Linked DNA regions of Homo sapiens: regions 2 and 3 are each linked to region 1. The links are contacts of gene promoters, found by promoter capture Hi-C in blood cells and fetal thymus (Javierre and others, 2016). All regions are on one chromosome and are shown on one strand. Each heading gives the region's core, a stretch centred on a gene start or on the middle of the fragment in contact. The rest is flanking DNA. Distances are from core to core; before and after follow the strand shown. Region 1 holds the start of MRPL51 (mitochondrial ribosomal protein L51). Region 2 holds the start of TPI1 (triosephosphate isomerase 1). Region 3 holds the start of CDCA3 (cell division cycle associated 3).

Evidence for each region. The method cuts DNA at HindIII sites, captures the fragments that hold promoters and counts their contacts. A CHiCAGO score of 5 or more calls a contact.
Region 2: a contact is called between the fragment with the promoter of TPI1 here and a fragment that was not itself captured in region 1, in 2 of 17 cell types (non-activated CD4 T cells and activated CD4 T cells). The highest score is 7.4, in non-activated CD4 T cells.
Region 3: a contact is called between the fragment with the promoter of CDCA3 here and a fragment that was not itself captured in region 1, in 4 of 17 cell types (non-activated CD4 T cells, activated CD4 T cells, naive CD4 T cells and 1 more). The highest score is 8.8, in non-activated CD4 T cells.

Annotation. Positions count from the first base shown.
Region 1 is chr12:6,490,279-6,495,006 of GRCh38, forward strand. It overlaps MRPL51 (mitochondrial ribosomal protein L51), which reads right to left and starts at 2,984. Exons shown (of 3, transcript NM_016497.4): 1 at 2,780-2,984; 2 at 2,584-2,694; 3 at 1,608-2,189. The coding sequence starts at 2,858. The coding sequence ends at 1,993. It overlaps NCAPD2 (non-SMC condensin I complex subunit D2), which reads left to right and starts at 3,824. Exons shown (of 32, transcript NM_014865.4): 1 at 3,824-3,876. RefSeq lists enhancers at 3,202-3,251, 3,419-4,016 and a silencer at 3,452-3,781. The HindIII fragment of the contact is 539 bases long and covers 2,250-2,788 here.
Region 2 is chr12:6,865,502-6,870,229 of GRCh38, forward strand. TPI1 (triosephosphate isomerase 1) reads left to right here and starts at 2,030. Exons shown (of 7, transcript NM_000365.6): 1 at 2,030-2,180; 2 at 3,363-3,486; 3 at 3,598-3,682; 4 at 3,757-3,889; 5 at 4,187-4,272; 6 at 4,548-4,635. The coding sequence starts at 2,066. It overlaps USP5 (ubiquitin specific peptidase 5), which reads left to right. Exons shown (of 20, transcript NM_001098536.2): 20 at 483-1,131. The coding sequence ends at 576. RefSeq lists enhancers at 283-945, 946-1,607 and silencers at 1,877-1,926, 2,197-2,636. The HindIII fragment of the contact is 21,039 bases long and covers 1-4,728 here.
Region 3 is chr12:6,849,315-6,854,042 of GRCh38, forward strand. CDCA3 (cell division cycle associated 3) reads right to left here and starts at 1,972. Exons shown (of 6, transcript NM_031299.7): 1 at 1,908-1,972; 2 at 1,519-1,695; 3 at 1,153-1,282; 4 at 251-544; 5 at 9-115. The coding sequence starts at 1,638. USP5 (ubiquitin specific peptidase 5) reads left to right here and starts at 2,836. Exons shown (of 20, transcript NM_001098536.2): 1 at 2,836-2,976. The coding sequence starts at 2,866. RefSeq lists silencers at 1,978-2,027, 2,698-2,807, 3,778-3,827 and enhancers at 2,188-2,467, 2,474-3,434, 2,538-2,587, 2,858-3,497. The HindIII fragment of the contact is 8,619 bases long and covers 1-4,728 here.

The sequences.
Region 1 (4,728 bases), core at 1,269-3,768:
TTGAAAACAAAACCTTTTGTATCTTTGAATCAGGAAATATTCTATAAATGCCTATTGACCTATTAATTTCCTCTTCCCTAACAATCAGATACTCTACCAGGATATGTAGATATCTTCTTCAGGGCACCTTGCACTTAGCAGAGTCCCAAATATTTTATTTTCTCCACTCTAGCACCACCAAATCATGTAAAGTATACAGCCACTCACATTTCACATCAACTTCTCCATTCTTATGCATAGCTCCTTCCAGCCACCCCTCTGAAAACTGACTCTCCTAAACATTTCCGTAAGACCCAGGATCATGTTTTCATATATACCCATCAATCCATTTATCCAAAACCCACTTGTAATTTAACAAGTGCTTTTTATTTTTATTGAAGATGGGGTCTTGCTATGTTCCTAAGGCTGGCCTCCAACTCCTGGTTTCAAAGGATCCTCCCACCTCAGCCTGCAGAGTAGCTGGGATTATAAGTGTGCTCCAACCACCATGCCCCGCAACAAGTATTTATTAATCTAACTTCACTTTTATGGAGTTTTTGTTTTTTAAAATATAGAGATGGGGTCTTGCTATGTTGCCCAGGCTGGTCTTGAACTCCTGGCTTCAAGCAATCCTCATGCCTTGGCCTCCCAAAGTGTTGGGCTTACAGGTGTGAGCCACTGCACCCAGCCCTAACTTCACTTTTTTTTTTTTTTTTTTTTTGAGACAGTCTCACCCCAGTTGCTCAGGCTGGAATGCAGTGGCATGATCTCAGCTCACTGCAGCCTCAAACTCCTGGGCTCAGGTGATCTTCCCACCTCAGCCTCTTGTGTAGCTGGGACTGCAGGCACGCAGAACCATGAGTAGCTGGAACTACAGGCATGCAGAACCATGCCCAGCTAAGTTGTTTTTTTTTTTTTTTTGAGACAGAGTCTTGCTCTGTTGCTCAGGCTGGAGTGCAGTGGCACGATCTCGGCTCACTGCAAGCTCCACCTCCCAGGTTCAAGTGATTCTCCTGCCTCAGACACCTGAGTAGCTGGGACTACAGGTGTCCGCCACCACTCCTGGCTAATTTTTTTGTTTGTTTGTTTTTGTATTTTCAGTAGAGACAGGGCTGTGTTAGCCAGGATAGTCTCGATCTCCTGAGCTCGTGGTCCGCCCCCCTCCGCCTCCCAAGGTGCTGGGATTACAGGCAGGAGCCACCGCACCCAGCCACTTTATTTTTAGTAGAGACGGAGTTTCACCATGTCGCCCAGACCAGTCTCAAATTCCTGTCTCCAAGCAATCCTCCCACCTCAGCCTCCCAAAATGCTGGGATTACATGTGGGCACCATTCTGCCCAGCTGTAATTCTTAAAAATTATTATTAAAAAAGAACAAAACACATAGATGCCCTAGACTCAACTCAGCTCTACTGATCAATCTTTAGGGGTTAGGACTAGGCTTTTGAAATGTTAAAACACCCAGAAAACTGATGACCAGTCAGGCTTAGTATCCGCCATCTCTACCATTCATATGGTACTTAATGTTTCATATTTAAATGGAAAGGACACCTCACACTTTTTTGTTTTTCCTATAGTTCCTACTCAGAGAATATGCCTAATAAATATTTTATGAGAGTAGTACAGAAGTATGACTCCATTTTTCTCTTATATTTCATTTCAGTGTGGAAGGCTCTTTAGAAACACTATTAACATAACAGCATTATGTCAAAAAGCGCCAATAACATTCTCACCAACTTTTCTTTTTAAAGGAATTAGGTATAGCTAGACTGTAAAAGGCAAGTGGTGTGAAGCCCAAACCTAAGATCCTAAGATCTAGGATGAGTCAAGACTTCATAGTCTACATGAGTAGAGGCAGCATCTAGAGGAAAACAAAAGTATGTGGCTATCAAATTCCAAAGAAGCCCCATTTTATTACAGAGAAAATACAAAGCCGTTTCCTCACAGGGAAAAGTACAGTTTCCCTTCTCCAGGGTGACAGATGAGCCTTTTCCGAAGTTCTCAGCTTTCTCTTCTATCGAAACTTCCCATGTCGGTTAAAGTGTTTGTAGAGATAGCGGATGCGTTTATTAAGGTTGTGCAGGTCATCAGCGAACATTCTACTTCCAACCATTTTCCTCTTTCGGATACAACGTTGCAATTCATTCCCTTTCCAACCTCGAAGCCATATGGGCCCCCTGATCAGTTCTTTGGGGTGCTTTTCAAAGTTTCCTGTGTAATGTGAGAGAACACATTAGATCCAAGACAAGAGAACTCATCCTACACCAGCTAAGCTTTCAACCCACGGTTGCATCTTGCTGAGCAGCACCTATAGACAAGGAACATTACAGTACAGAACAATAGCACAGACTCTGGAGCCAGACTGCTTGGGGTTAAAATTCTGATGCTGCCATTTATTAACTTTGGAAAAACTGTTTATTTTTACTTATGAAGTAAAAATTATACGAGGGGACTCAGAACAGTGCCAAACACAATGTAAACAGCTACATAAGTGTTTGCTCTTACTATTGAGCACAGTACCACTCTCTACACAGGAGGAAAAGATAGTCGTTACAGCCTAATTGCCATTCTGAAATTGTGTACCACGTCGAAGGTCAAGTCTTACCCAGGATCCCGATGTTGTCATACACTCCGAACATGGCCCTTTTCTCGTTCCAACGATCAACCACTTTGGGGGGCGGGAGAGTGAGCCTTATACCGATCAATCTAGGCACACCTGGGGATGGGGAAGGGAGGGAATTAATCTGAGCCGCCTATTATACTACGAAGCAGTTATCGGGGTGCCTACATCAGCCACTTACCAAGAGAGAAGCTTCTGCACGCCAGAGGCACCCAGTCCCACAGGCGCCTACCTGCCCCGGATAAGAGGTTCCCTGCCATTTCTCTAGTCTCCCCCCTTCAACAGCACACCAAATAAGCCCAAGAAGATGACAGGAACCGTCCCCGCCAACTTCACACGAGTACTAAGGCGAAGACAGCCATCTTGGGCCTTACCCAGGCAGCTGTGGGCGCACCGCCCACCTACGCCCCATCCGCAACAGCCACGAGCCCCGCCCCCCGGGTTCCGGCAGGAGGGGCCTCTACCACCCTTCCCGCCTCAGTGCTTCCGGTCCGCCTGCCGGAAGTTTTGGAGCGCCGGACAAGCTGAGGTCCGCGACTCGTCGCTAAGATTCCCCAAAACTGAGATTTCAAGAAAATTCACCCTTTCCGCTTTCTTTGGCGTCCTTCAACCGTGAAGGAAATGAAGGTTGAGAACCTGGAACCCGCTTCCAATGACCAAGCCCTTTCTCTGTGCCTCACAACAGTCTTCCGCTGTAGCTGTTTTTATTACCCCTATTTTACTACTGGGGAGGAGATTTGAGGTCCTGAAAGTGAAGTGACTTGCTGGACGTCACTTAGCAGAGGAGATGGCGAAACCTGGATTAGAGGCGATGCCTTCTAACTCCCAGCGTGGACTTGCCTCCTTTCCTGGGGGTGACTGAATGCCCAGCCAGGGACGCGACGTCTCTGGCCAGCAGAAATACGGCCTCCTCCCCGCCGACTGGGCAAAGGGGGACCTTGCGGCCAAGGAGGGATTCGCAGGCGGGCCGGGGGTGGGAGCGGGGGCCGGAGCCGGAGCCTTGGCCCGCCCCCGGGCGGCGCTGTGATTGGCCGGCCGCTCCGGCGGGCGTCGCGATTGGCCGTCCTGCAGCCGTTGAGATTTGAACTCGGTATTTGTGGCTTTGCCCGCGCGTTGCCAGACTCAGAGGCGGCCCTTTGCCTCTGCCTGCCGGGGATTGGCCGGATTCTCCGCCGACTTGAAAACTGCCTTGCTAATTGGTGCGTGTTGTGCACGCGTGTTTTTTCCTTTTCATTTCAGCCTGACTGCCGGAATCAGAGCCGCGGGTGAGATCCCCAGGTAAGATGTGGTGTTGCAGGTCGTAAAAGAGTAGGAAAGTCGAGTACATGGCAGTGTGACCCAGTCTTGGGCAAAATACAATAGGCCTAGTAAGTATATCCCTGGGGCGCGATGTGTGAGAAACTGTAAGTCTGACAGATCCGCAACGGAAGTTGTTAAGCAAATCGCTTAACAGATCCGCAACGGAAGATGTTAAGCAAATCGCTTAACAGATCCGCAACGGAAGATGTTAAGCAAATCGCTTAACTTTCTTACTTCAATTTCCGCTCTGTAAACTCATTTGTATTATTATGCACCTCATGGGATTGAGGTTAGGATACTTAGATCAGATATGATACATGCAAACAGCCTAACAGACTTGGCACAGGATAAATAAATCATCATTGTTAATGCTCTTACCATTCTGGTGCAGGAAGCCCACTAGCCCATGCTGGGGCACTGTTTTGGCCTCAGACGAGATCAGACCATTCTCTCTATACTTAAGGAGCTTTGCACATAAAAATGGAAATAATAGTACTTTGCACATTAATATGCCACTTTATAGTTCTTTAAACACCTTCGTACTGCTTGATTTGTTTGATCATCAGAGCAACTTTGTGAAGTAATCAGAGTTTAGTAACCCTGTTTTTACAGATAAAGCCCAGAGGTTTAAGTGTCAAGACCAAGTGCCAAAGTCACTACTAGAATTAGTTTCTAGTCCAGGGTCAATCTCAGATCCCGTAAGATAATGTTACTAGCTTGCTATAAAACTAAAAACCATTATATATGTTGGGGGTGGGGAACTAACAAAACCAGATGATGTTACTAGCTTGCTATAAAACTAAAAGCCATTATATATGTTGGGGATGGGAA
Region 2 (4,728 bases), core at 780-3,279, 370 kb after region 1:
ATCCTTCTGCCTCGGCCTCCCAAAGTGCTAGGATTACAGGCATGAGCTACCGTGCCTGGCCAGGCCCCCTGCCTTTGTAAATAAATTTTCACTGGAACCTGGACACACTTGTTTATGTGTTGTTTGTGCCTGTTTTCACGCTGCGGCAGGAAAGTTGAGTCGTTGTGTCAGAGACCAGAGAGAGAGCCTGCAGAACCTCAAATACTATCTGGCCCTTGCCAGAAAAAGTTTACCAACCCCCTGCCTCCCTGGAATGGGTGGAGGGTGGTTGTAAAGGTACTGGAGGATCTGAAGACATAATAGGGTCCGTGACCCTTGTGAGGTTGTGAAGCTCCCTTAAGGCACATGGTGGCTGGGCTGTGGATTTGGGGTATGGGCAGAGAGTGTGGAGAGCACTTCCAGGGGCCATGTCTGAGAGACTACATGATGCCACTTTGAATGCCCAGTTTGTTCATCCTTTTCTGTTTTCCCCACTTCCCCAGATGGGTGATCTACAATGACCAGAAAGTGTGTGCCTCCGAGAAGCCGCCCAAGGACCTGGGCTACATCTACTTCTACCAGAGAGTGGCCAGCTAAGAGCCTGCCTCACCCCTTACCAATGAGGGCAGGGGAAGACCACCTGGCATGAGGGAGAGGGGCTGAGGGATGGACTTCAGCCCCTCTGCTCTGTACCCTTTTTCCTTTTGTCCCCGGCAGCAGGGAAGAAGCTGGAGGCCGTGGGAGAATGGCTGGGCAGAGCAGAGGGGCAGCGATAGACTCTGGGGATGGAGCAGGACGGGGACGGGAGGGGCCGGCCACCTGTCTGTAAGGAGACTTTGTTGCTTCCCCTGCCCCCGGAATCCACAGTGCTCTGCTTCTCTGTGTCGCCCCGCCCAGCCCCCTGGTGTGGAGGGAGGGGTCTCGTTTGTGCGCGTGGGTGTAGCTTTGTGCATCCTCTCCCAGTGGAGCGATCACCTGTGCCTCCCCTCCCCCTTTGTTTGCCCCTGTGTGGTTGGTCAAGGAGGGATGTGAGGGAAATAGGGACCCCCCGACTTGCCCTCCTGCCTCAGTCTTTCCCCCACCCTGTCTCTTCCTTGTCCTTCTCTGGAAAATGCCAAAATACACGATGTGAATAAAAGTACAACGGCTAAATTGTGTCCTGTTTGATACCTTGGGGGAGAGGCTTACCTTCCTGGGGTTAGCAGGAGGGCGCTTAAGAAAACTCCTAACTCTGGCCGCCTCCCTGCCAAAGTCAAGTCTCCACTTTTCACTGGTTCTAGAGCTCTAGGAAAATTGGGGTTGGGTGGGGAGGTGGAGTAGAGTGACTAAATGCCGACACAAAGCCAAGGAAAGATGGAGTGAAGAACCCTTCCCTCTCTTTATTCACACAGGAGTGGAGGATTTCCCAAATGTCCCTAACTGGCTAGCTGGCTTCAGGCTGGGACTCAGTCCCTGCAGTTCCTGCCAGGCCTTGCCAGCCGGGGCGAGGGTTGGGATGATCCTGGCGGCCTATGCCTGTGTGGGCTGCCCCTCCCGCTGTGAACCCTGCATTTGTCCCGCAAGTTTTCACTCAGGTAGACTCCCTGGGTACAAGGGTGCCTGCTCAGCAGTCGGGCATGAGCTGCTCCGATGGGCGAAGGAGGTTGTCTATCCCACAGTTGGAGAGGGGCCCTCTCTGCCCCAGTGGGCGATCTGGGCTACGGCCAAGTTGCCACCAGCTAGTTCCGCTTGAAAACCACTTCTGGCCCCGTGGGGGACTCAAGTCGCCAAGCGAGGGTTCCCCTGAGCGCCGGAGCTCACAGGTCTCGCCTTGTCCCGAAAGCCCCGCAATCGAGGCGGAGGCGACCGAGCCCCCGACTCTCCTAGAACGTTGCCACAAGAAGGGGGAACGTCGGAACAGTGCATCATCGGGCGGCGGCCGGGGCGGCGGCAGGAGGGCGGGCGGGGGGCAGGGCTCCGGGGGACTGGGCGGGCCATGGCGGAGGACGGCGAGGAGGCGGAGTTCCACTTCGCGGCGCTCTATATAAGTGGGCAGTGGCCGCGACTGCGCGCAGACACTGACCTTCAGCGCCTCGGCTCCAGCGCCATGGCGCCCTCCAGGAAGTTCTTCGTTGGGGGAAACTGGAAGATGAACGGGCGGAAGCAGAGTCTGGGGGAGCTCATCGGCACTCTGAACGCGGCCAAGGTGCCGGCCGACACCGGTAAGCCCTCGCCGAGGAGGGGTCTGGCCGGGCCGGGGCCGGGGCCGGGGCAGGAGTGGCAGCGCCCTCTCCCGAGGCCCCGAGGCCCCGAGGCCGGTATCCGCGCGGACCTGATGCAGGGCTGTGGGACGAGGGCCGCTGGGGTCCGGGCAGGGGCCTCGCAGCCGCAGCCCCGTCGGTGCGTCGAGGGGGCAGGGCGGAGCACATGATGCCCCTTGGACTATGGGGCAGGTAAGGACGTTTTGGGTCTCCTGGAGGAAGGTGGCCCCGGGGCGCGCACTGGGGCTGTGCCCGCCAGGCGACGGGGTTAGGAGCGGAGCCCGAGGCTCTGCGGGAGACCGGGGGAGGCTGGGCCGCGTGGGCTTCCCGCTCCCTGCGCCCTGGCCTCCCGCGCCGTGCGCCGCCGCACGTAGCCCCAGACTCCTCCCCTTCCTCGCCGGCGTCCGCGTCCCCGCGCCGAGCTGCTCGGGCTCCCTGAGCCCCAGATCTGACCCCTTCCCTTCGGCAACCTGAACGACTCCCGCCTTCCACGGAAGGGACCGAGCCCGTGCCAAACAGGCTGAGCGATTTGGGAGTGAGGAGCCATCCTACCGCTTTCCCCAACCTGGAAACAGCAAAGCGCAAGGCCTCTGAGTCAGTTAGGTCTCTGCCACCCACGGGCAAAGGATGCTCTCCTCCATCCTCCTTCCTCCCTCCACCGAAATCGGAGAGCCGCGGGCCTGATCCAAAGAGGCATCCCCTTCTCGTTCATTCCCCAGAGGCCTCAATACAAACCCCAGGAGTTGGCCCCTCTCCTTTTGCTACAAATCCTTGCCTTGCAAAGGGGAGGTGAGGATGGGCTATTTTAGAAGGGAAGCAGGGTTGCTCCCTGGAGAATGCTGAGTCTGTGAGGTGCCTATGCCGAGAATAGCTCGAGGAAATTGGAGCCCCAGCTGTTAAAAGAGCAGAGGGCAGGGTGAGGGCCGTGGCCTCTCAGGGGTATCTGGAAGGCTCTTCGAGTTGAGTGCAGACCCAGCCTGGGCTGGAAAATGGACAAAGGTCATCTTGCTGGGGTGAAAAGGGGGAGAGCAGAACCAAGAAGAAGAGGGTGAGGGCTGGGGGGCTCCAGGGCACTGGTTAGGAATTGTGGGGAATGAAGGCTTTCTTTAGTCTCATCCCCCTGTGGTACCATCTTGTCCTCAGAGGTGGTTTGTGCTCCCCCTACTGCCTATATCGACTTCGCCCGGCAGAAGCTAGATCCCAAGATTGCTGTGGCTGCGCAGAACTGCTACAAAGTGACTAATGGGGCTTTTACTGGGGAGATCAGGTGAGATCGAGGTGGAGAGGGGTGTGTGGGACCCTTCCCTCACTTTCCTCGTTGAGGGGAAAGCCACAGGGTGGGCTCCCTGCTGAACCTTGGCTTCATCTCTTCCTTTAGCCCTGGCATGATCAAAGACTGCGGAGCCACGTGGGTGGTCCTGGGGCACTCAGAGAGAAGGCATGTCTTTGGGGAGTCAGATGAGGTTAGTAGCCAAGAGAGAAGATAAGGGATGTCTTTTTCCAAGAAGGATGTCTCACCAAGTCTGTTTCTCAACAGCTGATTGGGCAGAAAGTGGCCCATGCTCTGGCAGAGGGACTCGGAGTAATCGCCTGCATTGGGGAGAAGCTAGATGAAAGGGAAGCTGGCATCACTGAGAAGGTTGTTTTCGAGCAGACAAAGGTCATCGCAGGTATCTCTGGAGAAAGGGACCTTTGAGCCTATCCAGGGCCACAGAGACTCAGAGGGTAGGGTCAGGCCCTGGAGCCTGTCTTGGTCCCCATGCTGATCCAGAAAAGGAAAAAGGGGAGGGGGAGTGACAATCTTTGCTTGGGGCCTATGACTTCTCCAGCCCCAAGGTAGATGCCACCTGGAAATCCCCCAATGTCCACTAGGGGGCAGTAGGCCACCGTTCTTCGTACTCCGGAGAACCTGGCTGGAGAGCTCTTTCTTGTTCACCCTTCCCTCCATCTGTATCTCTGCCCTGCAGATAACGTGAAGGACTGGAGCAAGGTCGTCCTGGCCTATGAGCCTGTGTGGGCCATTGGTACTGGCAAGACTGCAACACCCCAACAGGTAACCGGGCCCAGGAGCCCTGCCCTCATCCCAGCCTGCCTCAATAGGTTTGGACAGACACAGCCCACATGGGGCAACCCCTTATTTCAAAGACACAGAGACCTTGAACCCAGAGACAGTGACTTGTCCAAGGGCATCCAGTCCAGGGCCTGGCTTGGATCAGAGCCCTGGTACTCTGACTCAGTCAGAAACCACACTAAGTGTCCACTGGTGCCAGTGATTTTTCCTCTTAGAGAGGCAGAAAAGGTCTTACTTAGGCCAGCTTCTTGTTCTAGGCCCAGGAAGTACACGAGAAGCTCCGAGGATGGCTGAAGTCCAACGTCTCTGATGCGGTGGCTCAGAGCACCCGTATCATTTATGGAGGTGAGTGGCTTTGGTTCCCGGCTGAGGTGGAGTGGGCTGAGGACTAGACTGAGCCCTCGGACATGGAGGTGGGGATGGGGCAGACTCATCCCA
Region 3 (4,728 bases), core at 722-3,221, 360 kb after region 1:
TCCTTTACCTGTCGTAGTGTCAGGGTGCCAGGGGAGTTGTCATCCTGCAGGATGGTGAGGGGGGATCTCCCTAGTACCTTGCTGCTGTTTGGTTTCCATCTATTGCGCATAGAACCTGGGGTGGGTAAGGCGTTAAAGCAAGGACCCAAAACTAGGACTTACAGTTTATTCCTCCCACACTCACCCATGGACCTTATCCCAAAACATTATCCTAGTTTATCTTCCCTGCATCTTGCCTTAGATTCTGTACCTGAAGATCTGGGAGTCTCAGGGTCCCTTGAGGGCTTGTCGGAGCTCTGGCTGGCCACAGGGGTTTCTGTGGGCTGTCTTGCTTCCTCCTTGGAAAACACCTGTTTGGAGGGGAACTCAGTCTGGTTCCAAGGTGGCATCTGTTCCTCAACAGATAACTGGGTACCCAGAGGCAAGTCCAATTCAGAAGATAAAGGTGCCTCTGGGGGCAGAACAGGCTCTGGGGGAAGATTTGATTTAGAGTCTTCAGTTTCAAATACTTCACTCAGCTGTTTCACCAGTGGGCTTGGGGGGTCTAGAGGAAGAAAGTGAAGTGAACAGTGACCTTCTGATACACAACATTCAGCAAGGAGCAAAACATACAGAAACCCAGGACTCATGCCCAGGAGGGTGAGCAAGTGGGAAGAGAGAAATCAAGGAAATCAAGGTGAAAGGGAGCAATTTTTTTTTTTTTTGAGATGGGGCTTGCTCTGTCCCCCAGGCTGGAGTGCAGTGGCGTGATCACAGTTCACTGCAGCCTTGACCTTGTGGGCTCAAGCAATCCTCCCACTTCAGCCTCCTGAGTAGCTGGGATCACAGGCCCATGCCACCGTGCTTTTGTGTGTGTGTGTGTGTGTTATGTGTGTGTATTTTTTCTAGAGATGGGGTTTTGCCATGTTGCCTAGGCTGGTCTTGAACTCCTGGGCTCAAGCGATCTGACCACCCCGGCCTTCCAACGTGCTGGGATTACAGGCATGAGCCACCGCACCCAGGCTGGGAACAAAATATTGAGATAAGAGTGAGATGGGTCCGAAGCAGGAGGATAGAGGCCCCTTTAAGGAACCCTGAGAGAATGGCTTCATGGACCCTACCCAAGAATAATAGATGACAGCTTCATCAGCATTCCCTGGGCCCAACGCTTACCTCCACTGCTGGTCTTCATAGGTGTCCGTGCAATACCAAGAGTAGGAGAGCGGGGATCTGAGTCCTGGGCATGTTTAAGACCCTCCAGTTGCTCCCCTGCTGGTAGGCCTGGCTGTGGAGAGCTCTCCACCTGTCAAGACCATAGGCTAGAACAAGTCTGGGCCCTGACTCTTCTCTCCTCTCCTCCCCATATTCCAGGAAGGAATTGCCAAGGCCCTCAGATATCCAGCCTACCCCACACAGATTGAGATTGCAGAAAATAAGGCTAGGATAAGGGTGGGGTCATGACGGCTCTCTCAAAATCAGGTTAGGAAGAGACCCAAGAATTCAGACATTCTCTGCCTTTCCCACGCTGGCCCAGAGTACCTGGATGGGAGTGCGCAGGATGCCAGCACTAGGTGAACGGGGGTCCGCCACTCGAGCCAGATGCTTGTTGTGCGGCGGAGGCCGCGCTGGTGTGACTGGGACGCTCTTGGCTGAGCCCATCTCAACCAGGAGTTGCAGGGTGGGGGCAAGGGCCAGCCCGGGACGAGGAGGGAATGCCTGTGAGAAGTGACTCAGGTCTCAGCCCTTATCTCTTCCACGTCGGACCTTCAACCCTAAACCACCCTGTCTTCCCAGTTTCCAGTGAAGAAACTTCCTGGCGAGGGACCAGAGGCCTCTGCGGAGTTAATGACTGCTGCAGCTGACAAAATGGCTCGTTCTGGGCCTGCTGAGCCCTCTAACTTATTTATTAAATTATTCAAATCACTTACCGGGCCCCAATTCCACCTCTGGATGCACAACAGCTCGTGGCTCAACTCCCGAAGTTACCAGTTTCAAACTTCCCGCCACGCCCCCTGCCCTGACCCTATTGGCTGAGCCGACGTAGTTCCCATAGGCCCTCCACGTAAGACCCGCCTCGAGCCAAAGGAAGCTGTTGGTCTGGGAGAACGTCTATCATGGTGACTGTAGGTGTCAATGGACTGATGCTAGGCTTGCCCAGGGGTGACGCCTCCTTGATAAGGGTACTTCTGTTCAGTATCGGCCTGCGAGCCGTCCGTGGCAGGCTGAGGAGTGCCAGTCTTCGCTTTCGAGACGTCTAGTCTCAAGAACGAATTATTAAACAAAATAGAATCATGAGTGATTACACTATTATGCGCACATCCAGCTGGAGTTGTGATGGTTTTCCTGAGGCGAGCGATAGTAGCTTTATTGGTTGACAGCTGTATCAGTCACTCGACACAACCCCCTCAAGCTCCGCCTCACTGGATACCCCCTTTACAAATACCAAGACAACTGTCCCTCGACTTTCCGACCGGACAGGTCCCCAGGAAACTTTCTGGAATTGAGAGGCCTAAAACAACCGTCAGTTCCTGCTCTTCAATAGAAGGCACGCGAATGGACTCTAAGGGTCCCGGAGCCGGAGCAGCTGCGGAGCCGCAGCAGCTGCAACCCCGAAGCCCACCTAGCTGCTCTACGTGCGCTCCCGCCCTGGAGGAGTGGGATTGGTTCTTTCAACCATCAATTGCCTTAGGAGCGCTTCTCATTGGCGTCAGTCAAGCGCGGGGCAGGGGCGGAGCACCGGCAGGCAGGCTCCGTCCAACTGCCATTCTCGCGCGTCGTCTCCGCGGCGCATGCCCCTAACGAGTGGCGCTCATTGGACGGGAGGGGCAGGGGAGGGGACTGGGAACGGTGGGAGCCGCCGTGTGTGGAGAAGCTGCTGCCGGTGTCATGGCGGAGCTGAGTGAGGAGGCGCTGCTGTCAGTATTACCGACGATCCGGGTCCCTAAGGCTGGAGACCGGGTCCACAAAGACGAGTGCGCCTTCTCCTTCGACACGCCGGTAAGCCCATTCCCCACGCCCGCAACGAGCACGACTTCCTTCCATCGCCCTGGTCATTCCGCTGGGGCCTGCAAGGCTTGGGCTACCGCCTCCCTGCGATGCACCATGGGACTTGTAGTCTCCCACGCTCCACTCTGCCGTTGCCTTTCATTAACTGCGGCTGTCGTGTGACTACCGTCCCCGGAAGCCGCCGCGCTCACCTCTCCGGCTCCCCGCTTCGTGGAGCACTGTGGGCATTGTAGTCACTCACTGCCTTCGTTGCCGTTCTAAGCTAGGGGCGCAGCCCGACCGTCGGACTACATCCCCCAAGTGGACCCTTGAGAAAACCTGGCAGTCGGCCTTGTCTGCCGCGCACGGCTCTCCGGGTTTTGTAGTCTCGTGTAGGAGTGATGGGGACGACTCCCCACTGTTCTCGGCCGGGGTTGGAGTTGGGGGGTGGGGACCGCAGTTCCTAGGCGGTTAATAGTCTGGGAGTGGACTCTCAAGAAGTCCGATTCTGAGAAAGGCAGAGAGCCTCCACCCCGTGGTTAAAACAGACAGGGGGCGGGGAGGGGAGGAAAGAGGAGAGGAAAGCTCTAGTCGTTTCTCCTTTGAAGTGAGCAATGGCCGCAGCCCCCACCCTTCCCCCCGCCCCCCAGCCTATCACAGACAGCTGAGATAACCCCTTTTAAAGTATTCCTAGAGAGGTGGTTTCTTTCTCGGAGGATGCTAAGGCCTCTTTCCCATCCCGCTCCCACTCTTGGCTAGTTACACAAAGCCACCTCCCACACCATGCTTCACGTTTTGCAGGCTCCACCTGGTACCTCCCTTCCTGCAGTTCTGCCTTCCCTATGTCACCCTCAAGCGGAGGCCCTTTGGGGCCTGAACTGAGAAGGCAGCAGCTTGGTTGGGATCCGCCCCCCTCACCACCCCTCCCCTCAAGCTGCTGTGCCCTGCCCAGTGTATTCTGCCAGAACCAGCTCATGGCCTGAAAACTGCAAGTCAGAGTGGAAAGCCTTCATTACTGCATCACCAGTACTGAGTAGAACAGCATGATGTGAGGCCCAGTTCAGGATCATCACTGTGATTTGTGGTTTGCTTGGTTTGCTAGGCTTTGATCTGGGCCTCAGACAATGTGCTGCTTCTCTGAAGTCTGGCTTTGGCAGAGGTAAAAGAGCACTGCGCGGAGCAGAGCTCCGGGGTTCCCAATCCTTGGTGAAATCAGCATCTTTAATTTCCAACAGAGGAGTTTAATCACTTCAGAGCTCCCACATTCTTCCCAGGAGGGAAAGGTTTTTCTTAAATTACCAGCAGGTGGTAGAAGTCAGTGGGTCCCTCTTTACACTTTTATTCACTCCTGTCTCTCTCCTTAGTAACTGCTTTGAATAATCCAAAAAGGGTTTTTGTAATCTTCTGAAACTTTCCCTTTTTCACCCCAAGTCAAGAGATTTTCAGTGTGCCCTAGTTCTTTGCTAACCAACTTCCAGCATATTTGGTTACCTTCAAATTGGGCTCATGGTAGAAAGAGCTTAGTTGACCTCCCCGGTGAGAAATGCTCTATTTGTTCATGAACTTGCAGTACACACTGTTCCTAGGAAGTGGTACAGAGCAATCTATGGGACCAAGAACTACCTTAGACAGTGCACTATTTTTCATATCACAGCAGAGAAATGTTCAAGGCCACTGAGACTTTTATTCCTGGAAGAGGATGTCTGTTGTTGCTCAAAGCCTTGGATCTGAGGGAAGACCCTTATTGTCTCCAATTTCCTCCTC